Linked DNA regions of Homo sapiens: region 1 is linked to region 2. Evidence: promoter capture Hi-C in human tissues and cell types (Jung and others, 2019). All regions are on one chromosome and are shown on one strand. The core of a region is centred on a gene start or on the middle of the fragment in contact, and the rest is flanking DNA. Distances in the headings are between cores, read along the strand shown. Region 1 overlaps TBATA (thymus, brain and testes associated). Region 2 holds the start of AIFM2 (AIF family member 2).

What was found. The method cuts DNA at HindIII sites, captures the fragments that hold promoters and counts their contacts. A contact is called where the count stands out against the background at its distance.
Region 1: a fragment that was not itself captured here is called in contact with the fragment with the promoter of AIFM2 in region 2 in 1 of the 25 tissues and cell types used here (small bowel).

The regions. Positions count from the first base shown.
Region 1 is chr10:70,770,611-70,778,216 of GRCh38, forward strand. It overlaps TBATA (thymus, brain and testes associated), which reads right to left. Exons shown (of 11, transcript NM_001318241.2): 7 at 6,543-6,728; 8 at 4,579-4,660; 9 at 3,603-3,747; 10 at 1,904-1,956; 11 at 628-851. The coding sequence ends at 766. Among named protein-coding and RNA genes, the nearest start is that of TBATA, 11 kb to the right of the region's middle. RefSeq lists an enhancer at 5,641-6,468 and a silencer at 5,737-5,918. The HindIII fragment of the contact is 6,791 bases long and covers 611-7,401 here.
Region 2 is chr10:70,127,241-70,134,074 of GRCh38, forward strand. AIFM2 (AIF family member 2) reads right to left here and starts at 5,585. Exons shown (of 9, transcript NM_032797.6): 1 at 5,494-5,585. RefSeq lists an enhancer at 5,376-5,876 and silencers at 5,398-5,607, 5,440-5,759. The HindIII fragment of the contact is 11,395 bases long and covers 507-6,834 here.

The DNA.
Region 1 (7,606 bases), core at 2,756-5,255, 640 kb after region 2:
TGTTTCGCCATGTTGGTCAGGCTTGTGTTGAACTCCTGATCTCAGGTGATCCGCCCACCTCAGCCTCCCAAAGTCCTGGGATTACAGGCGTGAGCCACCGCGCCCGGCCAGAATGCAGGTTTTAGGAGCAGGGATTCTGGAGCCAGACACCCAGGCTCTGCCACTTGTTAACTGTAGGACTTTGGACAAGTTGTTTCACCTGCATGTGTGTAGATATGTACTGCATATAAAGCACATAGAACAATTCACACTGTGCTCATCACCAGCTTTTACCTAAGTCGCTGCCTCTGTGCCCAGCACACACAAAAATAGAAACTCAATAATTGGCAACAGTGATCCTTCTAAGGAGGCCTACACGTTCCCCGACCTCTGCTCTACCCTACCCAGAGTCCTGTGTGTCTCAGCTCCAGGAGGGGCAGAGTCCTTTCTCAGGATGCCCCAACTGCCATCTGCCCTTCAGTTCTCTAGAACATAAAAGGACCAGGGAAGCCCCACGTGGAGGTAGCACTTGGGCTTTCCCATGGGAGTGGGGAGTAGGGATGGTTCCGTGCAGCCCATCTCTCTCTTGGCATCAGTGACCCCAACCAAGCACAGGCCTCCCACTGCTAGGAAAGCAGAACTGTCCTCTCTCAGGGAAGACGGTTTTATTTAGTAAGAGTTTTCACGGTAGGGAATCAGGTACTGCTGTGAAGGTGGTGGAGACAGAAACACCCCTGAACCCTTGGGGCTGCTCTTGAGCAAGGCAGGTGCAAGTGTTAGGGCCCCTCAGCTCTCTGCCCTCGGCTTCGATGTCTTCTTCTCTGTGTTCTGGCTTGAATGCATCTGGAGGACTTGAGCTTCTCCAATGTACTCTAGTGGGAGGAGAGACAGCAGGCAGGAGAGGACCGGGAAGGTGGGGCCCCCACCTGGGAGCTGCAGGTGGATGTGTGAGTGCTGAGGGGAAGGTCTGAGTCAAGCCCAGCTCCTGCTCTCAGCTCTGCTGGTGACCGAGGAGGGAATCCAACCTGAGAGGAATGGAGCGAATGGAATCCAACCTCTCTTCTTTCAACATCCAAGTAACAAATATCAATGAGATGCCTACTCTGTGCCTCTCTGCCAGGCACTCTGGACCTTTGATGGTCTAATCAGGGAGAATAATATACATTGAGGATGTGTTTCCTTTTCTCTCCCCTCCAGCCTGCTGCCACCCCTGCCCCCCACTCTAGTCTAAGGCACCAGGATGACTGCAGCAGCCTCTCCTTGGTCTCCCTCACCCATTCTTGTCCCCCATAGTCCGTGCTGCACACAGTAGCCAGAGGGGGCATGCACACCCTGCTCATAACCCTCTTCTACACCCATGCACACACCTGGCCTTTACCGCAGGCCAGCTCCTCCCACCTGTCTCATGCCTCCCTTACCACTGTCCCCCACCCAGAAGGCCCCAGCCACCATGGTCTGCTTGTTTTTCCACCAGCACACCAAGAGGTGGGAGCTTTGCTGGTTGGCTCTTCCTAGACTTGGGTAGAGCTGTATCTTTCCTGCCGTTCAGCTCTAGGAGCCCTCTCCCCACCTGCCAGTCCTTCTCACTACTGACCACAGAGCCTTGTTATTCTCCTTACAGTATCTGTCTCCACTCCTCCCCAGGTGTTTTAATTTGTTGTCTGTATTCCTCCTTGCTGGGATGTAAGTTCCGTGACAGCAGGAACTTGTCTGAATTCTTCCTCACTGATCCCCAGAGTTCAGCACATTGTGGGTGCTCGATAAATATTTGTTAAAGAATGAATATGAATAAGTGAATGAATAGATGAAATGAGCAGCATCCTTGGGCAGGGACTCATCTCCAAGTTGACTGGAATCCCCTGAGAAATCCAGCCAGAGTGGGCCTTGGTGAGTCCCCCAAATGACCCACTACTTGGAATCTTACCTGGTTTTTCGCTTTTTGTAAAAGGTGATATCTTCGTTTTCTTCGGGGATTGACTGTGACCAAATACAAAGAAGGGGCTGGGAAGGTCATGCTGGAAACCTGACCCCACGGGTGGCAGGGGAGACAGGGAGGTGGGGAAGGTGGTGCAGGTGCAGTCAGCTGTCTGCTCCAGGGAGAGGCAAGAGTCACCCCTCCTGGAGGGCCAGAAAACATCTGTCCATGACTAGCACCCAGGTGGCCTTCCTGTATCACCCCAGGCCAGACCCAGACAACTGTGGCCCTGCCGTCTGCAGTTAGTTCCACTGGGAAGCAAGGCCCTCCTGTCTCTGGAGAAACAGGGCATGGACTCTGCATCAGCCCTCCCCCTAGCCCTGACTCACTCGCTCCACTGGTTTCCTTGTGGACTTCCCTTTGAGTGGGCAAGACAAGAACCCTGCGTCTTGAATGAATTCAAAGTATGAAAGATGCTCTTCCGTCTTGCATTGGGCTTTACATCTCCCCATGCCTTTTTATGTGCCCGATGTTATTTTCCCTCCCTACGACTCTGGGAGGGGGCTTTTGAGAGATAGTTGAAGCTGATGATCGCAGCTGGGAGGTGGTTTGCCCAAGGTCACAGTGAAGCCTGTCTTCCTCGCTAGGCCGTTCCTCCTCTGCTCTCTCAGAGTGGAAGGGAACACCAAGTCCAAGGCCTTGCAAGAACCCATGACTTCAAGAAACCTCAGTCCACCCCTACCCCTGCTTCTTCTCACCAAGCCCACCCATGCTCCAGACACCTCAAACTTGTCATTCCCCAGTTGTATACCTTCCTGACTTCCATGCCTTCACCCAGGCTGGTCCCACTTCCCGGGATGACCTTTTCCCAAGCTTTCATTTGCTCAGTCAAATCCTACCACTCCTATCAGTGTTTCCCAAACTCTGTTGGAAACACTCAGGTGACTGTTAAAAATACAGGCCCCCCCGGCTTCACCCCGGCCTGCTATGTTAGAATCTTTAGGGGTCTGCATTTTTAACAAGCTCCCGGGGAGAATCTGAGTGCTGCTGGCTTTGGGAGTCAGTCGGGTCCAAGACTGAATCCCAGCCCTTCTGCCGACCAGTCAGGTTACTTTGGGTAGGCCATTCTATTGTTCCTGAGCCTCAGTTTTCCCATCTGTAAAATGGAGCTAATACTGCCTCAGTGGGTTGTTGGATGGACTAGAAAAACGTGGAACACCCAGCGGTGTCAGGCAAACTTATCGCTGCTCAGTGGCCTTGCTGACTCTCAGGCTCCACTCACCTGCCTTGTGAGGCCTCCCCCAGTTCGTAATTAATCTTTCTCTTCCAGCCATCAGGGCACTTAGTACTGGTATAAAACCACTGCCTTGTGTTAGCATTTTCTCTCTACTCATGTCTTCCCATAGACCAAAGAGCTTCTGAAGAGTTAGGTGTGGCTAATCCAGCCTTATCTGGTTAAAATTGACTCCGGTGGCCCCCTTGGGGTGTCCCCAGCCCTGGCAGTTTGGGGGCTGGTCTGGCTGTGTTGGCCTTGAAGTGGCTTGGGTAGCACTAGAAGGTCCCTGGGGGAGGGGCTGGGCCTCTGCCTCCAGGACAGACTTAGTCAGCCCAGACCCTGGTCAGCGCCAGGCTCCCTTCTCCAGGTCCCACTGGCCTCACCTGGGAGGACAGAAGGCTGCAGAAGGGCAGGGCGGGGTGCGGGGCCCACCTGCAGGGTGGCTCTTGCTTCTCTTGAGGAGGTTCATGCACTTCTGGAAGCTGGCTTAGGAGCTTTTCTGTAGGGATGGAGACTAGGGGCTGGGGAAGGAGCTGAGCCACTGCTGTCTGCAGGAGTCCCAGAGCGAGGTCTTTTTCTGAAAGCACAGCCCGGGGGCAGTGTCCTCAGCCCCCAGCCCCCTTCCTGTCCCTGTGGCGGGGCCAGAAGCAGGGCCTCCATCCAGGGCAGCTTTCTCTAAGCATCCCACCTTCTGCCCTCAGGTCCCCTCGGGAGAGCTCCCCCTTCTCTCCTGGCCCATGTGTGCAGAGCCCCTAGCCCTTTCACATCCCTGTCCTGCCACATGAGGATGTGTACGCCTTGTTCTTGGCCCCAGCTGGCCCTCCTGCCCACCATATCCCCGGGCCCACGCTGGGAAGTCTACTGGGGACCTGCCTTCCTCCTCCCCCTTCTCCTTCACTCTCCTGTCCAGGAAGTCTTCTCCAATTAGCTTCCTGGTTCTCATCACTCCTCACCCTTCTACTCAGATGCACCCCCTACCCACTGTCCCAGTGCGTCCGCGTGTGTATTCCTGTGTTCATGTGTATACACATGAGTAGCCTTATGTGCATCTACTTGCACCTGTGTGTGTGTGGGGGTCTCCCAATGCAACGTGTGAGGGGCTGTGTCTGCTAAGTTCAGTCTTTGGATTTTTTCCTCCCAGGTGCCTAGGCCTGGGGTCAGCATGAAAGAGGGGTCCCCTCCAAGGAGCAGGGGTAAGGAAATCCTGCTGAGGAATTGGGGAGGAGGAAGCAGAGATGCTGTCCAGCTGGGAAGGGTTAGTTTGGGGCTCCAAAGTGGAGGAGAGGCCTCCATGGAAGGCCCCCTCCAGGGTGGGAGCTGAGGGACATTTGAGTCCTGCAGAACCAGAGATCAAGGGCAGGACCTTGGCAGCCTCCACTGAGACAGTGCTGCGGGGCTGTGTCCTCACCCTTGGGCGGAGCGTAGAGCAGCCAGAACTGGATTGCGCTTAGCAAGTCTGTTTCCAGGATCCGACACAGGAGCTCCAGGACCTGTGGGCAGGAGGCCAGCACATTCCAGCCAGGAGTACAGGCAAGGAGTACAGGCAAATGTAGGTTTGGAGGGCACCAAGGAGACCCTTCCCCCAAAGTGGGCTCCCAGAGGCGCCTGCTGGGCTAAACGTGTTCCCACAAGGGTCTGTGCCTTTTCCTCCACATTGGGCTTTGCACTTAACGGAGGGCTTTGTCTCACAACAGTCCAGGAGGAAGATTCTTAATCTTCCTGCTGGACGGGTGGAGAATCCGAGGCCCTGAGAGGGGATGCTAGCAGGTAGTTGGTGGCAGGACACGACCTCAGCGAAAGGTTCTGTGGACCCCACATCCCTGAAGCCTGCTTGGCTGGTTATTCCCTAGGGCCCCCTCACTGGGAAGCCAAGGTCCGAGCTGGCCAGTCAGCTCCTCAGAGACACACCAAATCCCACATGCCCAGGGCCTTGGTGTGGGGATTTCAGGAACCCCATGGTAAGCCATACCCTAAAAGTCCCAGAGTCTGGGGATGTTGGAAAAGGGATGGGGGAAGCCCAGAGGGCAGCCTGAGGCGGGGCAGCACAGGCCGGTTCTGCAAACTGCTCAGCACCGGCTCCCTCCTGCAGAGCTGTGGGCATGCTTGGCTCCTTGCTGCATCCTCAGTCTTTGACATCTTTGCTACTTCCGGGCTCATTTTCCCCTGCGTTCTCCAGTCAGTTAGCATCAGGAAAAGATCCAGCTGTGTCTGGGATGGGCTATGGGGGCTCCCTAGGCCAGACTGCTGCTGGTGGCTGTAGCTATGGCAGGCTGGAGTTGGGGCCTGAGGTGAAAGGTGGAAGCCCTGGAGTCCTAAGAAAGTGAGGCCCCCTCAGCTCCTGGCGGTCAGTCATCCTAGGACCTGGAGGGGCCCGTCGGTCCCCAGCAGGTCGGCCTCATCCTCAGCAGAGTGGAATCTGGGCTGGGCCTCTCCCCAGGCCTCTGCCTGCTTAGGGGTCCACCCTCGTCCCCAGATGCCCACCCGCTGTGCTGACCCACCCTGACCTGCCCCTGGGCCCTTCTCCATTCTCTGTGTCCAACTTACCTGCCTTGTGCCCCCTCCCCACAGGACCTGAGAACCTAATTCCAGGTGAGGTGAGGCCGCCCTATGGTGGAGAAAGCACCTTAGTCCTGGCTATGCTGCTCCGTCTCAGGGGACCTGGCCCATGGACTATCACTTGGCAGGGCCTCGGCCTCCCCATCCGTGGCATGGAGGTGCTGAACCCTGTCTGCTCTATCCACTTTGCTGCATTGTGGTAAGGTTTCAGAGGGAGTGTGTGCCTGACAGTGCTGGTCACAAGGAAGGTGGCAGAATGCTGGGTCTACCTCTGGCCTTTCTTGGAGGACATCCGTGCATTTTCACAGGGACCTCTGACGCCTTCACCCACCGGGATGAGGCATGGACTCATCTCAGGCCTCAGTGGGGAAACGTGAGCATGGAGGAGGTGGGCTCTGGGCTCACTGAAGCACAAGCCAGGCCCCTCGCTGAGTGTGGACACCAGGCTGGGCCTAGCCATGCAGGCTGTGGGGTGCGGCCTGCTGTGATGGGCAGGACCTCCTTCTTCAACCCACCATTGCAGCTCCCTTCACTAACTCAGCAAATGCTACAGCTGGAAGGGACCCTCGACAACAGTGCGTTCATGCTTCCAGTGGAGAGATCACGGAACTAGGGCCCAGGGAGGGGAAAGGACTCACATGGAAACCTAGAGGCAGCAGGGGGTCATAGCCCCTGCTGCTGACTCCACAGGGCTGGAGTTTTCTGTTCTTAACAGTCCTAGGCACCAGTATCCCTGGGAGGGGCCTTGCCCTAAAGCGGTTTGTAAGACCCCTAATGTGGAGAGCCAGGAGCCTGGGAGCAGAACTGGGCCCTCACCAGCAGCTCCTGATCCTGAAGGAGGAAAGCCTGGACTCCTTCATGTCTGCTGGAAGACTGACTCTGCTGGCCCTGGTGAGATCTGCGGCGGCCGACAGCCCGGGTGGAAGCGGGGATGAGCCTCCCAGTCTCTGCTGAGTACTTTGCCCCCTGCTCCCGCAGAGGCTCCTCCTTCTGCTCCTTCTGCTGGGACAAAAGTGGCCAGAGACTCCAGGCAGTCAGCAAGAGGGGAGGAAGAGGGCTGAGGGGAGGAGAGGAGCAGGAGGCCGGGTCACAATCCCAGGGCACTTCGCCTCCCAAATCCCAGCATCACAGCGTTGCCAGGGTCCCAGGGTATCATCCAGCTCTGCCACCCCCCCAACCTCACCTGCCCTAGACCCCTCCTTGGGCATCCCCGGCCCTCTCTCTGGCAGCTGGCCCTTCCACTATCAGCTATCACGCTTAAACCAGCAAAAGCTCTTCCTCCTGGAACTCAGTAATGCAGGGTCGATCGCTGGATGCCCGCGGGTGGTTCTCGTTCTCCCTCCCAGGTAGGTCCTCCTTGCTGCTCCTCCCCACACCCATCAGAGATTTGAAAACAGCATCCTGCACCAAGGGCCCACCGCCTACCTTAATTCCCAGCTCAGCTGCCCCCAGGTCTGTCCCAGAGAGGCCTGGTGCCTGGGGCCTCCTGCTCTTGCAATTCCAATTAAGACTGGTAGTATCCTTCCCCCCATTTTAAAGATAAGAAAACAGAGACCCAGACAGCTTAGCTGAGTTGTCCTGAGTGCTGCAGTGAGTTAGTTGTGAGCAGGAATGAGAAGCCGGGCCTCTGCCTGTCCACTCTGGTTACCCAAGACAAGGGGCAGGACCAGACTGTCCTAAGAGCAATTCCAGTCACCTTCAAGCTGCCTCTCAGGTGACTTTACTGTTTTATCATCAAATGGCACCCATGGGGTCACCCCTATCATGTTTGAAAACCTTCCGAGATTCTCTGCTCCTTATGCGATTAGACACTAAAAATCTTGGCAATTAAGAACAAGCTGCTCCTCCCCACATGCAAAGTCTGCCCCCCCTCACCTTTC
Region 2 (6,834 bases), core at 4,335-6,834:
CAGAAAGCCCCACTTCCAAGTTAGCTGGGCATGGCCCCTGAGAGGGGCTACGCAGCTGGCCGGGGATAGGGACAGGGGAGTCCACTGTGCGTCAGGTCACACTGGAGCACCCAGGGACACTCAAAAAGGACAGCCTAGAGCCCTGAAAAAGAGCTGAGATCAGGGGGCCTTCCTAGCAGAGGAAACAACTTGGGCCAGAGGCCCAGTGGCAGGAAGGGAGGAGGCAGGTAGAGTTCAGGGCACCTGTGGCAGAAGGTGGAGAGGCTTAGAGGACAGGTGACAGGGGCCGACAGACAGACAGCCTGCCATGCCAGGGCAGCTTTGACAATCAGGTGGACATACAAGCCTGCTCCGGGCCCTTCATGGGGTTTCCTCCAGGGAAAGAAAGTCTAGTGACCCCAGAGTGGACCTCAGGGGCAATGAGTTGACCAAAGGAGCCAAGCCCTTGACCCCCAGGCCCCTAGTATCATCAACCTGCTTCCCCGAAAGGGCAAACTCTTGCCTCACCCAAGGAAGGCAAATTGCTTATCTGGGGTTCCCTGTGAAGGGCCTGGGGCCTGAGGGGACACCCAGACCAGAGCAGGGCCAGGGAGGGGAGGCACTTTTCCTCTTCAGGCTGCCTGAGGCCTCTCCTGCAATCTGCTCTCTCTCTCTTCTCTCTCCTCTACTGACCCCTGCCACGCTTACTTGTGGAATAGGGAGGCCAGTGACTCTCCAGCAGATTTCACCCTGCCTCTTTGGCAGCCCCTTGCCCAATACTCTTGGACATGCCGACTCTCTTTGGCTCTGCCAGTGTCGGTTCTTGCCTGGCCCCAGAAAACAGTGAACTCCCCTCTGCTTGGCCATGATCTACTTGGCCAGACACCTAAAGCAAGGGCTTAAGCCATGGAGCTGCATTTCCAGCCACACACCCTGTAGGAGATGAAAATGCACGTATGGAATTAGTGGATGCCCAGTTGTATGTTCTAACATAGCAGTAGTGCTGTGCAAACCTCCACCTGTGTGACACTCCATCAATCAATGGAAACTGCCACCAATGAGAGGCTACAGGATAAAATATTATAAACCCATACAATGCAGTACTGTGTAGCCAGTTGTTTTTAAAGGGTGAGTGATGTTTTGTTTTGTTTTTGAGATGGAGTCTCACTCTATTGCACAGGCTGGAGTACAGTGGCTCAATTTCAGCTCACTGACTGCAACATCTGCCTCCTGAGTTCAAGCAATTCTCCTGCCTCAGCCTCCCAGGTAGCTGGAACTACAGGCATGTGCCATCATGCCCGGCTAATTGTTTTTTGTATTTTTAGTAGAGTCAGGGTTTCGCCGTGTCGGCCAGGCTGGTCTCGAACTCCTGACCTCAAGTGATCGGCCTGCCTCGACCTCCCAAAGTGCTGGGATTATAGGTGCGAGCCACTGTGCCCAGCCTGTGAATGACGTTTTTATACAAAAAGTCTGTCCATGAAAAAGTCAGGCAAGGGCTGGGTGTGGTGGCTCCTGCCTATAATCCTAGCACTTCAGGAGGCAAAGGCAGGAGGACTGCTTGAGCCCAGGAGTTTGAGGCTGCAGTGAGTAACTTTACCTTTGCTCCCTCCCACAACACACACACACAAAGACACACATACACAATCTGATTTACACAAAACATGTTTTCAAGGTTCATCCAAGTTGTAGCATGGATCAGTGCTTCATACCACTGCACTTCGGCCTGGGCAACAATGTGAGACCCTGTCTCAAAAGTAAAAAAAAGAAAAGAAAAAGTCAGGCAATATTTATTTATTTATTTACTTATTTTTAATTTTCTTAGGGACAGGGTCTTGCTCTATCACCCAGGCCAGAATGCAGTGGCATGATCATAACTCATTATAACCTTGAACTCCTGAGCTGGCTAATTTTTTTTTTTTTTTTTGTAGAGATGAGGGTCTCACTATGTTGCCTAGGCTGATCTTGAACTCCTAGCCCCTCAAGGGATCCTCCTGCCTTAGCCTCCCGAAGCACTGGAATTACAGGGGTAAGCCACTGTGATTTCGAGCTGTAGAAAAGATTCAATGAGATCATTTACGTAAAGCATTTTAGCATGGTGCCTGGCACAGAGTAGCAATGAATACACAGCAGCCACGTTTTATATATATATATATAAAATATATGTTGCAGATTAGTTTGCCCAGTCCCAAAAAGTCAGGCCACAGAACCACATGAAAGATCTAATCCCATTTATGGCCAATAAGACACATCCACCTCGGTATGTATACACATATACAGGTAATGATTACAGCAGTTAGCATCTGTTGCACTTTTGCCCATATCTTCGATTTAAGGTATGAGTTTTTTCTCCTTATTTTGGAAAAAAGTTCAACAACTTGCCCAAGTTCAATTCTCAACACATCAAACCTGCTGTCTGAACCAAAGTGCTAATAGTGGTCATAGATAATGTTTTCATTTTCTTCCTTAAGCTTTTGTATTGTTTGAATTTTTTTCAAACAAGCATATGTCATTTTTGCAGAAATAATGTCTTTAATAATAGGACAGACCGCTTACCATCTAATTTTTTAATCAAAATAGAATTCACATATACAATTTACCACTTAAGATGTAAGTTCACAGTGAGCTATGATTGCACCACTGCACTCCAGCCTAGATGAGACCCCATCTTTTAAAAAAAAAAAATGAGATGTAGGCTGACTCACACCTCTAATCCCAACACTTTGGGAGGCCAATGCAGGCAGATTGCTTGAGCTCCGGAGTTCCAGACCAGCCTGGGCAATATGGTGAAACCCCATCTCTACAAAAAATACAAAAATTAGCCAGGCATGGTGGCACATGCCTGTGGTCCCTGATATCAGGAGGCTGAGGTGGGAGGATCGCTTGAGCCTAGGAGGTCGAGGTTGCAGTGAGGCATGATCATGCCACTGCACTCTAGCCTGGGCGCCAGAGCAAGACTCTGTCTCAAAAAAAAATTTTTTTTAATTTAAATTTCAAAAAAAGATGTAAGTTCAGTGGGTTTTAGTGTATTCACCAGGTTGTGCAACCATCACAACTATCTAATTCCAGAACACTTCCATCACCCCCAAAATAAATCCTGTACCCCACCTACCCTAGCCCTGGGTAGCTACTAATGTTCTTTCTGTCTCTATAGATTTGTCTGTTCTAGACAATTCATGTAGATGGAATTATACACTATGTGGCTTTTTGTTTGCGACGTCTTCCACTGATCATCATGTTTTCAAGGTTCATCCGAGTTGTAGCATGTTATCAGTGCTTCATTCCTTTTCCTGGCTGAAAAACAGTCCATTACTGGTGTATGAATAGACCACATTTTGTTTATCCACTCATCAGCTGACGGGCACTTGGGTTGTTTCCACCTTTTGACTATGTGAATAACGCCACTATGAACATTTGTGTACAGGTTTTTGTGTGAACCAGTCTTCAGTCCTCTTTAGTATATATTTAGGTATGGAATTGCTGGGTCATATGGTAACTTGAAGTTTAACTTTTTGAGGAACTGCTAAATCCACCATCTGATTTTGAACTGAACACCAAAGCCCCAGTGGGAATCACAGAGAATCTTAACTATGTCTGTCTAGGTTCAAGAATGTTAGCTTAAAAGAAGGCCTAAGAGAGCGGAACAAACCCTGATTGTCCAGGAACCCCTCAGTAACTTTACCTTTGCTCCCTGCCACAACACACATACACACAGACACACACACACACAATCTGATTTACACAAAAATTTGCTCAGTCAATCCTGTTTTCTCTGCCAAGAGCATCCACCCTGATCTCAAGGGTATTATTCCACAATAAGCAGCCCATAGGACTACTGAAAAACCAGGAAGTTACATTTATGCCAAAGCTGTTCAGAGGTTGTGCCTCAGAAGACACACAGCAGGAACCGTGTGGGCTCTGATCAAAGCAAGAATGTCATCCCAGAGTTGCTCCAGTATTGCTTCACAAATATTACAAATAAAACACGATGCTTTTTGAGTCGTCATGGCTCACACAAAGGGTAGGTTTCAACATCAGCCTCTGGAGAGCCACATTCCCAGAGTGGCCGTCCCGGATAAGAAGGCCACTACAGCACGACTCACAGCACCATGGAGGTTTCCTCCACCTGCGGGACACAGCAGGATGGAGACGGTTGGGCGGCCTCCCTTCCTGGGACACTCCATGGCCAGCCCCTCAGGGACTACTTGAAGAACAGAACCCCCAAAAGACCAGTTTCTGAAAAGGGACTCAAAGTCTAAGGGAGGCAGCCTCCTTTTATCCCCAGGGGAGGGCAGCTCTGGGGCAGACAGGTTCATCTGGATGTCATATTCACTCCCGCACAGAAAACCTAGGCCAAGCAATTTGTCCATCCTCCTCAGAGCCAGTTTTGTGGTCCCCATGGTCTGCCCACCACCTGTACCTGGACGCTGGCTTCATTTGGCCACCAGACAAAAGTCAGGCTGGCCCTGGAGTCCACCGGCCTGCCCAGCCCATCACTTCTGGGCTAGGTAGTGCTAAGCCTGCCCAGCCCACCCTGGCTGGGGCTCAGTGCCCTCTTCTTGGTGACACACTGTGCTCCTTGGAGAACTCCTCTCTAGGTGCTGGGGTGAGGGCAGGTGTGATCTGAGATCCCGGGGCTCTCTGGCAGGTGCATGCACGCACACTGGAACCTGATACAGGCTTTTGAACACAGGTGCACAGTCCAGAAACCTGCAAGTCCCATCCCAAACTATATCTGACTCTCTGCCCTATGCCTGTCCTCCTACAGGATCATCAGCCCCCAAGAGACCTCACCACTCCCCATCCTCACCTTAAATTCCAGGGTCAAAAAGACTCTCCTTGTAGGGAAAGGTAGGGTGTGTTGATCAGGTGGTGTTGGAAGGAGAGCCCCAATATAGGCCACTAATTCAGTTCCAGGTGGACTGCACGCGTCCCATCAGAGTTAGTTTACTCACCGCTGGTCTTTGTCCCTGCAGCACCCAGGGCTTCGGGAAGGGAGAAGCAGACTTCCTAGTGCTGCACCCCCCAGCTCCCCCGAGCCTATGGGCACTGGGTTGACTCCAGTTTCTTTCCTCTTAGAGACTGAGGTTTCTCCCTTTCCTCTCACACCTGCTTCTGTCCGGACCGGCCGCTTCTACCCAGCGGACCCTCGGACGGTCCTCGCAAGATCCGGGTTACACCCGCCCCGTGTTCCCTCTTCCCCGGTTCGCCCTTCCCGGCCTAAGCCCATCTTCCTTAGGAAAACTTAGCAGGGATTTAGGGGCCAAACCAGGAGGGTGGAGTTTTCTTTGCCCTCGGCCAGGAGCACATCTCCCTGTTGCGTTTTTTGGGGGAGACAGAGAGGGGCGGGCCTGAGTCGAGTATCCCTCTCCTCGCAGCGCCACAACTGCGCGCACCGACCTCCCCACGCCAGACGCGGCGTGAGCCAGGCCTCTAATCCGCTCGCCCCTCTTCCGGGTCCCGGTCCCGCCCGGGGCGCCCGGGGTCTCGAGAGCCCGCCTGGCGGCGCGATCTCACCTGTCGGCCGCGCCCGCGCGCTCTCGCTCCGGCTCCCGCTCCCGCTCCCGCTCCCGCTTGGTCGTCTTCCCGAGTTACTGACCCGAGGCGCTCCCGGGCGGGGCGTGACTCAGCACTCGTGCTGGTCCCCGACCCCGCGGCAACGCCCCGGCCAGGCCCCGGAAACGGTCCTGGCACGCTGGGGCTGGTCTCCGAACGGCCCGCCGGACTAACCTTGACCCTGAGCGAACGGCCTTGAACTTTGAAACAAATGCTCCCATGGCCAGATGTCGCCTCTCCGGCTCCTGCCAGCACCCGCGCCCCAGTCCTGCCGAGCCATTCAGACTTGGTTTAAAGTGTCCTTTCAGCATACTTTAAAGCAAAAAAGAGAGAGAGAGAGAGAGAGAGAGAGAGAGAGAGAGAGAGAGAGAGAGAGAGAGAGAGAAGGAAGGAAGGAAAACAAGCATCCCCCTGTTCCTCTGATTTTCTCGAGGACACCTTTAAAGCCACTGGAACCTTGGAGAGTGGGGTTCCCCTCACACGTTGGGCGCACTGCCAACATCCTTCCTTCAGACATACACATAATAATTCCGCAAACCCTGTTGAGCTCCTACATTTGCCAGGCACTGTGCTAGGCGTTGGAGGGATAACTTGGAGAGAAAACTGACAAGGTTCCTGCTTTCACGGAGGCGACAGTCTGGGAAAAGACAGATATTAAACACACCACCAAAAAATACATGTATAGAGAAAACAAAAACCATGTATCACCAACTGCAGTAAGAAAGATTGGGCATGGCCAGGCACGGTGGCTCATGCCTACAGTCCCAGCACTTAGGGAGGCCAAGGCGGGAGGATCGTTTGAGCCCAGGAGTTGGAGACCAGCCTGGGCAACATAGCGAGACCTACAAAAATTAGCCGGGCTTGTTGGTGCACACCTGTAGTCCCAGCTTCTCGGGAAGCTGAGGTGGGAGGATTGCTTGAGCCCAGGAGTTTGAGGCTACAGTGAACCATGATCATTCCACTGCACTCCAGCCTAGGTGACTGTGAGATTCTGTCTCAAAAAAAAAATAATAATAATAATAATAATAAATGAAATGAAATGAAAAAATAAAAAAGAAAGACTGAGGGCAAAGGAAGGGTGCAAATACTTCTCTCCAAGGATGAGAAAGAGGTAGATTTAGGTAAAGAGGAAGGAAGTGTGGTCTGGATGTGCAAAGACCCACAGGCAGGACAATGACCTGGAAGGCAGTGTATTGCCAGCTCAAATCAGACCAAGCTAACTCAGCGAAAGATAAGCCATCTCCATCTACTTACTGCAAATATTAGCACCTACTTTAAGAGTTGTGGATAAGGGCCAGGCAC